Linked DNA regions of Homo sapiens: regions 2, 3 and 4 are each linked to region 1. The links are contacts of gene promoters, found by promoter capture Hi-C in blood cells and fetal thymus (Javierre and others, 2016). All regions are on one chromosome and are shown on one strand. Each heading gives the region's core, a stretch centred on a gene start or on the middle of the fragment in contact. The rest is flanking DNA. Distances are from core to core; before and after follow the strand shown.

Region 1 (2,700 bases), core at 141-2,640:
CAGTGGGCTAGACCCAGACCCAATCATGTTAAGTATGATAGGGATCAGTGGCCCAGCTGGTGTGGAAGACAAGTGGGTCATACTGGGTTTAGGCCCACATAGCACTAAAGGTCTTCAACATGCAATTAGAAGCTCAAATGTTGACGGGAATATTGTTCACTCTAAAAAAGATGTTTCTATTAGAATTTACTTACTCTTTCATGAAAACATAGATGCTTCCTCTTTCCTGATTGTGAGAACAGTGTACCTGACTAGCTTCCCCTTTTCTTTAACTGTTAGGAAGTTCTGTCCTAGAGATAAGTTTCAAATTTATGAAACAATAATTTCAGGGATTATTATTTGCATCACTTTTCTTAATTGACTCTTTATAGTTTCCTTTTTTATAGTTTATATAGAGGTTTTATAATGATTTTAAAATTTTTATTCTCACACTATTTTATTTTATGCATTAACATTGTAAGCCAGCTCAAGTCATTTGTAAAACGTGGAGTGCTTAAAAGAAACAAAAGAAAATTAATAAATTAATTGAATTCAGAGACATCCTTTGCTTTCTTTTCAGTGGCATTTTTGAGAATTAACATATTATTATCCCCTTCATTATTCCATAACAGAATTACAAATTGCTAATTTAGACGTGGTTGTTAGTAGCTCATTACCTTGACCAAAAGTAATTTATGAGCCAATGTGGCTAAAGATACAGCACATAATAATCTTGACCTTTCATAGTTTTCAAACTGGATGACTCCTTGGAAAGAAAACAAATCTTTACTAAAGAAGTTAATCAGGTTTCACTCTAGGTTTTCTAAGCACAAAAAACACACCAAAAGCATTCACCCCAGCATCCACCCTGTTGCTGTCTTTTGCCACAGCTCCTTTGGTACTACCCCACCCAGAAGTCTGAGGTTGTTTTATCTGGGAAAGTAGCTAGTTGATTCTTTAGTCTTAAATAAAAAAGTTGGAAAAGGAAAAACAGTATCTACCCTTATTTCTGCCCCACAGGAATTACCCACCTCTCCTCATTGGAATTATGCATGAAGGGCTGCATTCCTTCAGCTTTATAGGGTATGACCCAGTGTGTTCAGAGGTTGGACAGGAAGATTTGATGGAGTAGCATTTTGTAGTAAACCGATCTAGGGCAAAAGTGTTCCACATTCCCCTAGAGCTTTTCTCTCCCATTTCCCTTCTGTGATTTCAGACACCCATTTATGTCTGCTGGGAGAATCATTAAGTCTTGAGCTCTGTGCTCCTTCCTCTTACCAGACCTGATAGTGACTTTAAGCGGGAGGGGGAGTTAGGAGAAAAGTATTTTGTTTCCTTCTTGAAGGGGGTGTGTCCCAGGCTTGTCTACCTGCACAGGCAGTAATGCGTGCCAGGAATTGCTGATGGATCAGTGAGCCTGTGTTCATGCCAGTGAGCTGCTGTGGCTCAGATACTGATACTTTCTTTCCAAACAGCATAAGAAGTGATTGAGCCACAAGTATACTGAAGGAAGGGCTCCCTCGAGTTCTGGTGTGAAGAGATAAATCACCAGGTAAGCCCAATAACTGTACTTTGATTACTAAGAACGTGTATTACGATGACCAGTACTACCTGTTAATCTGAGATTATTTTTTCTCTCCTTGAAAAAAAAATTCTGATTTCAATGTATCATTTCCTGAAGATGGTTAAATAAGGGAACAGAGTTGAAAAAGCAATGAGCAGAAACAACAGATTTCAACCCGCTTACTAACTATAATGAGGTGATTGGCTGAGGCTCAAGCTCCAGATTTTCTGACTGAAAGCACACTCTTCCCTCTGTGATAACACAGGAACCCCATTGTTCTGATGTGCCAGGGAGGTAGATTGCCTAGAATAAAAAGGGCTCCACCAAAGATACTTGTTAAAGTATCAGTCATATGGTTTTCACTAATTCATAATACGTTAACCCTTGCAATCTCTTAAAATAAAATTATGCTTGAGAGAATTAAGCTTATTTTTCCTTTAGGGTGAATTAGTTTAAGCTTTGCCTGGATCCATATATATCCAGGAAGTACTTCTCAATTTAACTCCTTCCCAGGACTCCAAAAAACCCTAGAATTGACTAACCATTTCTCCTGCTACTTCCCCAAATAAATATAAAATGTCACACTGTATTTTCTTAGTAGAGGCCTTGAAAATATATAATTTTTCTTTTCTCTTTTCTTTGTTTTCATGAAAAATCCATTTATGTAAACCTGATAGCCTATGTAATGTACCATGCCAGAGACTACATGAAGGAAAAATACCGAAGGAGATATAGAAAGAAGGTCAAGGTGGGAGAGGTGTGGAGAAGTGATGACCTTGGCTTTTTCATGCTGAGATCCATTAAGCTCAACTTGATAATAGCATTCATGGGCTGGAAATTACAAACAGAGGCAAGAATAACAAAAAATAAATAAAAGTACATTCTTTAATATGTTAGAATATTAACACAAGCCTTTTATTATGCTCTGTTGTCATTAAGAAAACACCACTCATTATCTAACCATAACCCAAATTGACAACAGTGTTCTAATAATGGTCCCATAATACTTTATTCAACCTTTGACAAGTAGTAAAACATTGAGCAAATTATTTAGTTGTCTTATCCTGGTTATTTCATTTGTAAAATGGTGCCAATAAGCGTTAAGATTGGAAATAGGAGTGTATGCCTGTGGAGTCTGACAAGCTCAACTTGCAAAC
Region 2 (2,761 bases), core at 206-2,705, 630 kb after region 1:
TCCCCATCCTCCCAGGCCCTGTCAATCACGATTCTGTTTTCTATCTCTGAATTTGACTACACTAGGTGCCTCATTGTGTTTGACTTATTTCACTTAGCATAATGTCTTCAGGGTTCATCCATGTTGTAACGTGTGTCAGATTTTCCTTCCTCTTAAGGCTGAATAATATTCCATCATAGGTATATGACACATTTTGCTTATCCATTCATCCCTGTATGGGCTCTGTATACTATATGCTATCGGCTATTCTATATGATCTTCCCAGAAACTGTAAGTTCTTCTCTCACTATTTGATATTTGAAATAAGTGAGCACTTTTGAAGGCTAAGTGTTTGTTAAGGGTCACATGGTGAAGAAATGGGGTTGTTGATGGGCAAACTTGGACCTGCCTCCCTCCCAAGCCTGTTCTTTCCCTGCTGCCCACCATGCTGGTGCATGGCAAAAGGCTTTTCAGTCTGTTGTCAGGATAACCATAATCATGGATATAAAAGGGCTTTGAAATTGATAGATAGCTTAATATAATATCATCCTTGTTAAAACTGAATATTTTTGAAATAATATTATTAATGTGTTTTTGAGTAGTTCAAAGAAGATTTGCTGTTATAAGATGGGATTTTTTTCACAAAATAAGAAAAGCATATTTCCTGCAGGTTATTCCTATGGGCCAGTTTCTAATCTGGAACCTCGCCTAGAATAGACATTCTGTAAATATTAGAATAGTAACAGGCAAAAGATTTCCATTTTAAGAGCTGTTTCCAGTAGTTATGTAACAATTATTTCTCAGACATGCCTTTTTGCCTTGTGGCCAGAAGGTGGAGAAAGACGATGTCAAATACTTCACTTGTTGTTTCCTGCTCTGAATTTTTCTCACCAATCCTGGTTACCTTTTTTTACCATGTCCTAATCTACTTCAAATGTACGATTGAAAATAGGGTCTATTATTGATATATGTTAGTCAGTGTTCTCCAGAAAGTCGGAACCAGTAGGAAAGGTACGTAGGTAGGTAGATAGATGGATGAATGAGTGGGGATTTATTAAGGAAATTAGCTTAGCAATGATGAAGGCTAAGTCCCATGATGGACCTTCTGCAAATTGGAGAACCTGGGATGCTAGTAGCATGGCTCAGTTCAAGTCAGAAGGCCCCAGAACCAGGGAAACTAATGGTATAACTTTTAGTCTAAGCCCAAAGGCCTAGACTTTTAGTCTAAGCCCAAAGACCCTAGAGGGTCACTGGTGCAAATACCAGAATTCTAAGGCTGGAGAGCTGGAGTTCTGATGTCCAAGGGTAGGAGAAGAAGAGTGTCCCTGCTCCAGGAGAGAGAGAGAGAGAGAAAACAAAATCACCTTTCCTTTGCCTTTTGTTCTGTCTGACCTCCAGCTGATTGGATAGTACCTGCCCATGTTGGTGACAGCAGATATTCCTAAGCCCACTGATTTCAAATGCCAGTCTCTTCTGGAAACACCCTCACAGGCATAATAAGAAATAATGCCTTTCCAGCTATCTGGGCATCCCTTAGTTCAGTTAAATTAACACCTAAAATTAACTATCACACGATATATCTCATATCAAACTCATATATCAAAACTTTGATCAAAAGTATTTTATGAACGTTTATGTACAGAAAAGAATTAAAAGAATGTATGATGGAGGAAATAGTAAAATGTTGGCATAGTTCCTGGCACTCAGCAGGCTCTCTGCTCATAATGTACATAATGAACTAATGAATGAGTGGTGCATTTAAGAGCCTGTTATAGATGAAGATATATTGGAAAAAGTGATCTAGTACTTTCATGGTTGCAAACTGCAGATGCCTTTCTTGGCCTGTACTCTCTTGACAATGTGGAATGAACATGGAGAGTCTAGTGTATGTATATATAGTTTGTGTATTAGAAATGTGATCCCACAAAAGTCAATTGAAAACATTAATTTAACTGCTGCCAAAATGGGTTAAGTGGTATTTAAAGTTCATGAAGGAATTAATAAAACTTTGAAAGGTGAATAATAATGTAAAAATAAGTTCAGTATTATATTTCTGATTTGGTTATATAACCCTTCCATACTTACTAAATGTGATTTTTAGTTATTGCTTTCATATATACCTGTACAATTTTATTCAAAAGAAAGTGTATCTATGGAACTCGGTGGTTAAATGAGAACCTTGAGAAATCATGTTAGACCATTTCGTTTCTTTAAACAGAATTGTTAATATTTGTGTCTTCCCCTAAAGACTCCTAAGGGAAAAACAACATTTTCCTTCAAGTAAATCAGTATATATGGAATCTATTTTATTAGTATAATTTAAAAACACATCTTAGATAGTGGCAAATGATCTTCATTTGGTTTTTGCAGTTTGATATGTCTCTATGAAATTTATATACCCTAAAATGTCTCCCAAGACCCAGCATTTTATTTAATGACTGGCCTTTCCTTAGCTCATACTTCATTTTCTGACATGTAAGAACAATGTGTAGGAGTAAACAGGATACCAGGCATCCATGGAAGGATGATATTTTTCTTGGCCAAACTATCTCCTGTTGGAAAAATAAAAATAAAAACAAAACAAATAGAAATTTTTGTTTCCTTGCCAAGCCTCTAACCAGTTTTTTTTAAATTATTATTCCTTATTGTCTGGTATTCATGGTGGTTGGATAACTCAGTCAGATAGAGAACCAAGGCAGAGAGGCCAAGGAGCTGGGTTCCTTCTCTTTGTGGGCTGGCAGCTTTGCTCCGTTTGGGTGGCAGGAATCTGTAGCCAAATCTT
Region 3 (2,848 bases), core at 348-2,847, 620 kb after region 1:
GCCTCCATGAGGGAGAATATATTAAAAAAACAAGCCCTCAAAAGTTCTGAGAGTTCTGGGACATCAGGTACAGGGAAGAGAAGGTACAGGAAGGTGAGCTTCATGGTTGGAAAGACAGAGATATAGTGAAAATTTAGCCATGCTCCTCTGTCCTGGGCCCTGAATATCCAAAGCATGATGATTACTTTCCAGGTCAGAGACTGGAGATTCTTCTCTGGAAATTCTAAGCCATTGCTCCAAAGAAAATCCCAGTCAGATCATTTATTTATTCATTTAGCAGATATTTATTGAGTTCCAACTATGTTTACTGTTCAAAGTACCATGAATAATGCATAAACTATACCATTACTCATGGTGCATATCATCTCATGGAGAGAAATGATGAACACATAAAAAAATACATAATGTGATTTTCAGTGGGAATAAATACTACAAGGTGACGCTGCTGTGGTGAGGGACTTTTTTTTTGGCATCATTCTTATATTCTTTGATCAGGGAGTAAAAATATTTGGCAGAACGAGTACTCCCTAGCCCCAGTGAATCTTCACTTACCTCTCATTGGCTGGTACCCTTAGATGCAAAAGAGCCTGGAAAAACAAGCATCTATCTGAGAGGAATAGGACAACCAGGCCTAGCTTAGCCCTAACAGATTCATCCTGTAGCTGAAATGTGGTCCTAGCTTAGCCCTAACAGATTCATCCTGTAGCTGAATTGTGGTCCTAGCTTAGCCCTCACAGATTCACCCTGTAGCTGAATTGTGGTCCTAGCTTAGCCCTCACAGATTCATCCTGTAGCTGAATTGTGGTCCTAGCTTAGCCCTAACAGATTCATCCTGTAGCTGAAATGTGGTCCTAGCTTAGCCATAACAGATTCATCCTGTAGCTGAAACGTGGTCCTTAGTAAATCAAGGCTCTCATCAAGGGAGAAGAAAGAAATCACTTATGTGGAATCAACAGACAATGTCTGCCATAAACTTACGCTTGGATTGCTTGAAAGTTTGAATTGTCTATCTGTTGGTTTCTCTCGTTTCTTTTGAAAATGCAAAGCCCTCTGATGGTTGTATGTCAATACAGCTATATTGCATGCGAGGTCATGTGACTCAGAATCCGGGTTAAGAGAGCAGGATGTCAGAAAGCAATGAGAATGTTCATTAGTGTATTAATCTGATAGGTATGTCATTATTTATTTACTCAATACACATTTTACCCAGTCTTGTTATGCCCCAAGCCCTTGAGAAACAATTAGATGAAAGATAGTTGCTAAATTTGTTGAGTTCTGAACACTATATTCCTGGCATGATTTTAATTATTTTACATGTATAATCTTATTTAACTTTAATAACTATGCAATGGGAAAGGTACTAATACTTACATCCATTTACTGATGAGGAAATTGAAGGTCAGTAACTAACTAATCCAAGGTCAACTAGGGATGTGGGCCTAAAAGGTCTGTTTCTAAAGCCCATGCATGTAACCAGTAAGCTGGACTGCTGAGAAGAATAAATAACAGTTCCTATGGCACACTAAGTGAACAAAGTAAGAGATGATAATGTGGTTTTTAAGGTATTAACTGTATAGTTTTTATAAGGATTCATATAATTTTCCTAAAATTTTGTTTTACATGGGTCATTCTAAATTCCAGTTATTCAAAACATTTAAAATTATTTCAGAGATGCAGAAAACTATCCTGATAATATAGACCCCTCTCTTACCCTCCTAATAAGACTCTTTCTTCCATATTATTCCCAATGACCCTAGGAGGGAGGATCATTGTTATCTGCCTTCTATTTAGAGAAGCAAAGTAACTTTCTTGAGGTCACATATTTAATAAGTTAGTAAAAGGATTCACATACAGGTTTGCTACTTAAACCCTATCCTCTACTTGCTAAAAGTCTGCCAGAGTTCAAATCTCATCTCTACCACTTGCTAGCTGTGTGACCTTGAGCAAGTTACTTAAACACTCCATGCTTCTCTCTGTGTTATACTCTTTTTAAGTGTATAAGTGGGCTTTTCACAGCACAGTTTTATTGAACACCTGATCTGTTTACACAGTAGATGTTCAGTAAAAAATACCTTCTTCTTTACCCATGAATTTATGTTTTATTTCCCCTTCTTGTATGCTAGATCTGTTTTGTATCATGAAGGCATTTTAGTTTTTCATTCTAAGATTTAGGGCTCATTCATTTACCTGTATGTATTTGCATAGCCAGCTGTTCCTCTCATTCAAAAATATCTATGGAATACAGTGTTCAGCTGCCTACTATTTTCCCATGCAGATTAATTAAAGTGATTAGTACTAAAAGCGGTAAAATTGCTTGTCTTTTTAAAAACTGCTTGATGATGAAAAGAATTAACATTTATCCAAAAATTCCTGTGTCTTTAATAATAATTTTATTACAGGAACACTGAAAGTAAAACCTAGAGAAGGTCTATTATACATAATGAAATGCAATTGTGAAATCATTTTATCTATGTTTAGAAACATTCTGCGAAAATATTCATTTAAAATAGCAATAAAAGAATAATTAAATTTCTGTGGGAAGGAAATGTTAACACACCTTTTAAAGAAGTAATCAGTCAGCTGGGCATGGTGGCTCATGCCTGTAATCCCAGCACTTTGGGAAGCTGAGGGGGGTGGATCATCTGAGGTCAGAAATTTGAGACCAGCCTGACCAACATGGTGAAACCCTGTCTTTACTGAAACTACAAAAATTAGCTGGGCATGGTGGTGGGCACCTGTAGTCCTAGCTACTCAGTAGGCTGAGGCAGGAGAATCGCTTGAACCCGGGAGACAGAGGTTGCAGTGAGCCAAGATTGTGTCACTGCACTCCGGCCTGGGTGACAAGGTG
Region 4 (2,700 bases), core at 54-2,553, 910 kb after region 1:
GGGAGATATACCTAATGCTAGATGATGGGTTAGTGGGTGCAGCGCACCAGCATGGCACATATATACATATGTAACTAACCTGCACATTGTGCACATGTACCCTAAAACTTAAGGTATAATAATAATAATTAATAAATAAATAAATCTAAGACCTGAGACCATAAAAAAAAATGTCTTCCAAATTATATCCTGTAACTAATTTAAGTGGAGGTGGGGGGAAGACGCACAAGTGCAGCAGGCCTCTTAATTTCCTTAAAACAGATTGAAACAATCTCTGAGGGGAAAAAAGAAGAAATAGAAGCTCATAATACTGAAACCAGCAGTTGATATTTCACAGTAGTTGGCAAATCTTCCTTCAGACTTGGGTCCACAAGATTGCCTGATTAAGCAAAGCCCTTCTGGAGTCAGATCTGGTGTAAACCTGAATCTGCCTGTCACTAGTTGTACAATCTTGGTTGGACGCGTCCCTTCACTTCTCTGAGCCTGACTTTCGTCATCTGTAAAATGGGAATGCTATGATCTCATAGGGTGGTTGTGACAAGAAAAGGAAGCATTGTTTTTAAGTCCTTACGTGCTTTTAATCCAGCCCTTTAAAAAGGCACTTAAATGTACCTTTTATTGTTTGGTTGGCTTGTTTTCCAGGAAATTAGTTCTTAAATATCATTATCTATAATTAACATAAACTCTAATCTAATATTCAGACAGACGGATGTCGATGCCATGGGTGGTTCTCCTTTAAAACCAAAAGCCTGGCGACCCCGCCCCAGCTCCCCTCAATTTTACCCCAGACCCACCTTAGGTTCCTCCACTACCGTTCGGCTGACTTCCCTCCCTTCACACTTAACACCACAGGTTGCCTTCCCCAGCACCTGCTAATTTTTCTTTCCTCTTCCCTTCCTGGCCTCCGCCTCGGCCCGCCACCTCCCTGGCTCTTTGAGTCCCTTCGTGGACGTCCCCGCCGCGCCCCAGGGGATGTGCGTGTAGTGGGGGAGAGTGGGTCATAGGGTCTGGTCTCACCATCTCTATTTTCAAAGCCCCTAGGGGACTGGAGAGGGGGTGACATTGCCCCCCAGAACGCCGAGCGCGCGAGGCGCGTACTCACCAGCCGCCGCGGTCGCTTCTTTCCAATGCGCGGAACTCGGCGCTCGCGGCACCTGGCACTCGTGGGAAGTTGCGGGGAAGGGGGACCTGGAGGAAGAGGGGCGATGCCGAGCTCTTCCTGAGGCGCCTGCGCAGTGGCAGGCGCCGCGCCGCGGGGCACAGCCCCAACGTCCCTATCTGCGCCGCTCGGGGCGCTCCGAGTGTGCGCAGCTGCCAGGCGAGCGTCTAAGGCGCCAGCTCAGGGCTGGCTGGGACCGGGCAGCAGAGTCTGAAACACGTCCTTGGATTGGATGCTAGAACCAGCGTTGAATGTAACTTTCTTTCCGATTGGTTAGACAGGTGCTTGGAGGGGTTGTATCGGACCTAAGAGTAGAGGTTGATTCCACTCTCCCACCACGCACTTTTCGTATCATCCTAGATCTGGATGCCCTTCATGGAACCTAAAAACCAGCGAGTCCCGGAAAGGCCTCAGGCAATTGCCAAGCCGATGGCCTTCTGCCACTTAGTTAATGTGCACCTGGCAGCTTAGGTGGCCGCGGAGAAAGCAACTTTGGCTGCACCAAGGTCCGGCACAAGTCTGGAGAAGCTTCAGCCAGTTCCAGTGAGTTGGGATAAATGAAACGTGGATCTACCATAGACGTCTGTCCGTCTTACTGGATAAGCGAGCACCTTTACCGGGGAAGTTAGGTAATAGTTTACAAGTAAGGTTAAAAGCAGCACAGTGCCTGCGGCAGGGAACCAGTAATGAGTTACAGCTGAGAAATGGGTGCTTACTTTGACAGACGCGTATGTGGGATTGTGCTCCTGCTTTTAATTGGAAGGTTATTTAATAGAATAATGTAACTAAACTTTCCAACATAAAGAGCAGTTACCAAACAGAAGTAGAATTATTCGCTAACAGTTGGGTTGTCCAGGCACACTTGGCAGTGAGAGGATAGCATCTTTTTTCTTTTTATCTGTAGTGCCAAACAGAACTTGGTATAGAAGTACTTGCTAAATCACTATTGAATTTAATTGTCCCGCTTGTTAAAATGCAGGCTCCAGAAGGTATTTTCTTTCTTGTTCACTACTGTATCTCCAGCTCAAATAAAAAGTACAAATAAATTAAGAATATTAATCACATGTGATATCCTCAAGTGTTAAGTATTTAATAGCTGTAAATCCAGTACCTGGATTAGTAAACTGCAGTACTGGACCTTAGATAACAAATTCTGACGTTGGTCCCCTTGGTCTGAACCTTACAGTATAGCTATTACCAACAATCTGGAAGCAGCCATGGAGATGATTTGGCAATAGATGTATTCCGTTGATTATTAGTTTGTGCCTTGATAAATTAATTCCAGTTTTAAGTCTCAGGTTGGCCTGTGCATTGGTGAATATGGGCATCTTAGATCCATGGGCTTTCAGAGCTGGAGGGGATGGTAGTGGGTCTGTAGCTGAATCCCTAGAACCTGCAGACCCTAGAACCTGGTTTGAATACTCACTCTGTCACTCACCAGCAGAGCAATCATGGGCCAGTGTCTCAACCTATTTGAGCTTTCATTTCCTCATCTGCAAAACGCGTCTTGTTACAATACCAACCTCTTACTATCAAATGAA

Evidence for each region. The method cuts DNA at HindIII sites, captures the fragments that hold promoters and counts their contacts. A CHiCAGO score of 5 or more calls a contact.
Region 2: a fragment that was not itself captured here is called in contact with the fragment with the promoter of ADGRF1 in region 1 in 1 of 17 cell types (M2 macrophages); the score reaches 5.6 in M2 macrophages.
Region 3: a contact is called between a fragment that was not itself captured here and the fragment with the promoter of ADGRF1 in region 1, in 2 of 17 cell types (M2 macrophages and M1 macrophages). The highest score is 5.8, in M2 macrophages.
Region 4: the fragment with the promoter of ENPP4 here is called in contact with the fragment with the promoter of ADGRF1 in region 1 in 1 of 17 cell types (M1 macrophages); the score reaches 5.4 in M1 macrophages.

Annotation. Positions count from the first base shown.
Region 1 is chr6:47,041,022-47,043,721 of GRCh38, reverse strand. ADGRF1 (adhesion G protein-coupled receptor F1) reads left to right here and starts at 1,390. Exons shown (of 15, transcript NM_153840.4): 1 at 1,390-1,531. The HindIII fragment of the contact is 2,028 bases long and covers 1-1,970 here.
Region 2 is chr6:46,408,582-46,411,342 of GRCh38, reverse strand. The region is part of intron 2 of RCAN2 (regulator of calcineurin 2); the gene reads left to right. Among named protein-coding and RNA genes, the nearest start is that of RCAN2, 81 kb to the left of the region's middle. The HindIII fragment of the contact is 9,133 bases long and covers 1-2,761 here.
Region 3 is chr6:46,425,929-46,428,776 of GRCh38, reverse strand. The region is part of intron 2 of RCAN2 (regulator of calcineurin 2); the gene reads left to right. Among named protein-coding and RNA genes, the nearest start is that of RCAN2, 64 kb to the left of the region's middle. The HindIII fragment of the contact is 5,753 bases long and covers 1-2,848 here.
Region 4 is chr6:46,128,592-46,131,291 of GRCh38, reverse strand. ENPP4 (ectonucleotide pyrophosphatase/phosphodiesterase 4) reads right to left here and starts at 1,303. Exons shown (of 4, transcript NM_014936.5): 1 at 1,103-1,303. It also overlaps a transcript of CLIC5 not described here. The HindIII fragment of the contact is 7,807 bases long and covers 1-1,689 here.